2 separate regions of the Homo sapiens genome follow, and region 1 is linked to region 2. Evidence: promoter capture Hi-C in human tissues and cell types (Jung and others, 2019). All regions are on one chromosome and are shown on one strand. Each heading gives the region's core, a stretch centred on a gene start or on the middle of the fragment in contact. The rest is flanking DNA. Distances are from core to core; before and after follow the strand shown.

Region 1 (2,764 bases), core at 255-2,754, 170 kb before region 2:
GCTAGCATGTCTTGGCCAGCAGCCCAGTGGACACCTTAGTATTATGGGTTGGTGTTACCCTCATCATAATCAAAGGCAGTTAAGCTGAGCACTCTTAGTGGAACTGCATATAAGTTCGAGAGGACAGTGGTGGGGCTAGATCCTGGCAATTTCATGGTGAATTAAGAGATTAAAAAAAGAGATATTTACTCCATTGTTCCTCAGTTCCTGAAATGTGTGTGAGCTACTGTCACCAAAGCTTGTCGCCTTCCTTCACTCCAGTAGACCACTTCTAACCAGCATATCTGTGGGGAGAACCTGTCTCCCAACCCCTTCCCTAGCTGGGACATTGTTCTGTCTCTCTCTCCCCAGCTCTATCTATAAGAAAGGAGTAGGCATCTGAAAGATCATGGTTGACCTGGTATATCAGAGGAGATGGCAGAGAATAAATAGAGGAGAGGATTGAGAAGGGAGAGGAGGAGAAAAGAAAATGGAAGAATGGAATAAGGCAAGAGAGACATTGAGGTAGTCTGGAGGTCAACTTCAAAGAGATCCCAACTAGCAGTGACAAAATGATTAGGTTGTCACACTGTCCCATTAAAAAAAATGTTTAATGTATGCTTATTCTGTGCTAGGAACTGCCTACTTTGCCATATCCTCTATATGATTCTATTTCATTTTCATTTCATAGATAATAAAATTGAGGGATCAGGGGGATTTTGAGCACAATACTCCAGCTGCAGTCTAAACCTTCTTAGTCAGAGCCCATGATTAAGAATAATAATGCAATGTGTTGAGTCCCTACAACATCTCAAGTACATTTATTTTTGTCTCGAAAAATTGTTTTTGTTCCTTCTGATCAATAAATGCATATGGCTGAGTCTTGTTATCCGTGCCCATGTGTATCTGCTACTTCTTATTGTCTACGACTTTGTCATTTGGGGTTACATCCAAGAGATGGCCTACAGCTGGGATGGACTTCATGGAGCAACTATATGTCATGTGGACCCTCTGGCCACTCTGCTCTGGACTCATTCCTCCCCAACCAGAGCTTATCTGGAACTGAACCAGCTCCCAAGGGTAAAGACAGGTCACTGAGCAGATGACCTTGGCCTTCAACTGCTGACCTTGATTTGCGTGTACTGGCTTTGAGGGAGGAGGCTTGTGGCTTCCTTTTCCCTGGACTTACACTTAAAGGAGGCTTAGATTGGCTGCACTCCTCTCACTAATGCATGAGAGGTTAGGCGTGCATCATTGGATAGTATGCCACAAACCAATGTGATAGAAATCAATGCTGCCCATATATAAGTGACCAGCTTGGTCATTTACTTCATGCTTTTGTCCCCACAGAAAAATGACAGAAAAGCTTTATATAAACAAGTTACAGAACAATGACAAATATTTCTGTATCAACGGTATGCAAGAATTATGCCAGGTAATTCTGGGGATACAGAGGTGTCATGTTAATAGCTGGAATAAAGAAATTGCTGAGATCAGACTGTGAACCCTATACTAAAAGTCAATTCTGTGCCAAATGAAGGTAATTAGGAAAAAGGAGATACAAATAGGCACATGCTAAGATGAGTGAGATGGTTACTTCACAGTGCAGATAAAATGGTCTTTCCATAGGTCTATAGGAGTGGTCATATCTACATATTTCAAACCAAATACAATGATAATTGGTGGTTTTTGTGAACTGTGTATTCATTTGTTAAATAAGTTAGAAAATGCCAATTTAAGACAAGGTATATAGGTATCTTTACAATAGGATCCTCTAACCATTTTAATGCTAAATTTGAAGTTCTAAGAGAGACATTAATTTTCTAAGTTCTTACACTTTTTGCATGTTGAAAGCATTTTTATGTGTAACATCTTCTAGAACAATCTTTAGGCTGGGAATAATCATTTAATATTTTCAAGTCATCTGCCTTTTATTTTATGTTCTCCTTCCTTTAGGTCTCAAGGAGAAAATCTAGGTGGTACAATGTAGTGAAAAAGTGACCAGGGAGTGGTCCAAGACCTGGACTCATCAGTCAAGGCTGTTTTGGTTTCACTTTTTACGAAAATAAGTTGCCGCTATGTCCTCAACAAAGCGAGTTAACTTGAGACTCATTAACCCAAAGACAAAATTGGCCAAAAGATTTCAGGTCTTCCACAAGCCTGAGAACAAATCCAGCCATAAACCCTTTAAATGAACCCCCAATATCCATTTCCCTTTTATTTCCTCAGGATGATCAGCCCTGACCCGTTATCTTGCGGTTCATTTCATGTTTGTTTAGGGCAGGGGTGTCCAATCTTTTGGCTTCCTTGGGCCACATTAGAAGAACTGTCTTGGGCCATAAGTAAAATACACTAACACTAACAATAGCTGATGATGAAAAAAAAATTGCAGAAAAACCCCTCAATTTTTAAGAAAGTTTACAAATTTGTCTTGGGCCACATTCAAAGCTGTCCTGGACCACATGTGGCCTGTGGGCCAAGGGTTGGACAAGTTTGGTCTAGGGCAACCCAAAGAAATTGTAATAGACTAGCACTAGGGGGATCCTAAGGGAACATGCCAGTTAAACTCTCCTACTATATAGACAAAAAATCCTTCTTTGGAGTTCAACTTTCCCTTGGGTTAAAGTGCTGGTTAGTGTGAGAAATGACAATGGAATTAAGGCCACCTAATTCAGAGTCTATGCCACTTACGGCAGCATATGGAGACTCTAGGAGCATTCGGACATTTGAGTTCCTTGACACCAGTCTAACCAATGGGAGATGCCCAGGGGAAATCCTCCAGTTT
Region 2 (2,700 bases), core at 11-2,510:
GTTATATTTTAATAAAGGTTTACTTTTTTAAAAGCACTCCATAGTATCTCTAGCGATGAAGTTATACACACACACACATACATACATATATATTTTAACATACTTATGGGTAGATTCCTATCCAACTTACCTGTTCTTTAGTGTCTTTACTATTTATTTACTTATTTATGTTTCTGTATCCTAGGAACTAAGTAGAAGACTACCTAGCCTTCTATTCATTATTTGTGGGTTGGAGGTTGAAGTTCAAACATTTACTCAAACACATCCAAAACACATATGTGGCTTAAATATGGCTTTTCCTAGCCTTGCATAAATGTCTGATTCATATCTTGATGTACTCTACACTCTAGTGTCATAGAGAAAATAAGTCATTGGTCATAGAAAAACCTACATGCAAATCTTATTAACTTGATCAAAACCTAAGCTTAAAAAAAAAGCTAAGTCACAGAGATTCCTTTCTTTTCCAAATAACATTTTAAACACAATTTTTAGCCCTATTTAGTGAACTTCAATTCTTTAGATATGTTTTAGAACATAACATACTGCCAATATTCTCCACAGTATATTGAAGTTGAGAAGTGAAATAATTTTAACAATAAAATTTTATTAAAACATTACACAGTTAAGAAGTGTGTGTGTGAGAGATCTTTTCTCCTAATTATTCAAAATTTCACATAATATTTACATTAGAAAAATCTATCATGTCATATTCTAATTATAATGGTTTTAAGAAGACTAACGTCTTCTTCCAACTTACTCTGAATCTAAGGGACCACTTCTTTGCCACTAATAATAAAAGTTCAAGTTCATTAAGCAAAGATAGTATGGACTACATGAGGGCGTTAATATTCTGAGATGAAGACAGAAGGTTAATGACTAAAACTTTCAAACAAGTTTCTCTCTCTCTCTCTCTCTCCCTCTCTCTCGCTGTCTGTCTCTCTCTTGCTGTCTTCCATAAAGTCAGCAGGAACTTTGCAGCGTAAAAGGACACCCTAGGGGAAGCATGGCATAACTTGAAAGCGGTTTCCTGCTCCAGCCTAACCCCAAGCCTCTCCTGGGAGGGAGCGAGTGGAGCCTTCTCCCCGCCGGTCCGCTGGGAGGTTGGGAGACCAGGTGGCAGCAGCCTCCCCAGGCGCCGGGCACCCGTCGGCTGGCCCAGGGACTTACCACGAGCGCGCAGCACAGCAAGTTGTTCATTGTGGTCCCCGGAAACCTCAGGGGCTTGGAGGCGGCGGCTGGGCGAGCGCTCCGGTGCGTCTCCGCAGCCCGTGCGCTCATCACGTTATATATAGCGTCCCGGCAACAGGAAGTATCGCCTGCCTTTGATCAGTCATTTTTCTATCCTGGACCAAACTTTGCACCTTTCTTTTTTAGGAAGCTTGGGCGGGAGCGGTCGGGGGGTGTGCAGAAAGCTCCAGGGTTAACGCTTTCAGGGCTGGGGCGGAAAGGATCCCCCAGGGAGGTGGGGCGTGAGGGGTGGGGCGGTGGTGTCTGGCCCCTGGGAGAGCAGGGGAAAAAAAAGCCACCGGGCTGAGGAACAAGGCGGCTGCTGTCTCCGCGGGGCTCTGAGGTTTCCCGGCCCCTTCCCGCCAGCGGCCAGCCTCCTGGCAGCCGGGACCAGCGGTGGGAGGGCTGGGCACACGCTGGGCAGCTGCTGTGCTTGTGTCTCCTCCACCCTGAGAGTCCGATCCAGCCAAGATCCGGACGCAGTTGGAGTGTGTCCCAGACCTTTGTCCTCTCGCTGGGCGAAAGCTGTGAGTTTCCGCCGTACCCGGCTGCCTGACCCCTTCACTTCGGGTTCTGAAACCTCAAATTACAGGGCCCCTCTTTATGCATGGCATTGTCTGAGCCCTTTTCGGGGAGTTCGCAATCATTCATCTTCAAGTTTACATAAACCATGTAGTAGGAATTTTTCTAACTAATGTCTGATTGGCCCTAAAGCCCGTGCTATTCTGCATTCACTCCTTGTTATCTGGGGTAGTTAGAGCCAGAGAGAATCTGCAGAGTGAAAATTGGACTGCCTGGGGCAGGGATAACCTTGCGGAGCACTGTTCCCTTCACCAACCCCACCATCATCAAAGGGCTATTGGTATCGGAGCTTCCTACGCGCTGAACTTCTGGAGTAGCCTCCTCGAGGTCTTTCCACTAGCCTCAAGCTATCGACAGAAGTTTGGCACTTTGCTCTAGGGTTCGCTGTCTCCCCCATTAATTCCCTGGTCTAGAAGTTAGACTTGATGACTTGTAAAGTGTGGTCCCATTCATGGATTACAGTTCGCGGGTTGCCACTGAAATTGTTTACAGATGGCTGAAAAAGTCCCTGCAGAGCTGCTTCCCCATCAGGGCCAAGTGTTCAAGTTATATGTCTCCAGAGAAGGGCAAATACTGCCTTTCACCAGATTCAAGGGAAGGAAGGTGAAGAATCAGGAGAGGGGACCCCTGGGGAGCAAGGATGGCTTACCAGGATCAGAGCATCTGCCCCTTCCAAGGGACATCCTTCCACCACGAGTTCAAAGTGGATCCACAGACTGTTCCATCCTGCAAATTACAGAAGACGGGGTGTCATTCAGCTTTGTCCCTCAAGGGCCAGAATGTAACAGCATGCTGGTTTCTTAAGTGAACTAGTGAATAAATGTAGCTCAGTGAGTGTGGACAAAATTGTATGACTCCAAATCACTCCTTGTATTTTGAATCGTAGTTTTG

The links. The method cuts DNA at HindIII sites, captures the fragments that hold promoters and counts their contacts. A contact is called where the count stands out against the background at its distance.
Region 1: a contact is called between a fragment that was not itself captured here and the fragment with the promoter of TNFRSF11B in region 2, in 2 of the 25 tissues and cell types used here (dorsolateral prefrontal cortex and spleen).

What each region holds. Positions count from the first base shown.
Region 1 is chr8:118,776,494-118,779,257 of GRCh38, forward strand. No RefSeq gene overlaps it. Among named protein-coding and RNA genes, the nearest start is that of SAMD12, 160 kb to the left of the region's middle. The HindIII fragment of the contact is 3,819 bases long and covers 1-2,764 here.
Region 2 is chr8:118,950,625-118,953,324 of GRCh38, forward strand. TNFRSF11B (TNF receptor superfamily member 11b) reads right to left here and starts at 1,261. Exons shown (of 5, transcript NM_002546.4): 1 at 1,168-1,261. The coding sequence starts at 1,197. It also overlaps a transcript of COLEC10 not described here. The HindIII fragment of the contact is 2,925 bases long and covers 902-2,700 here.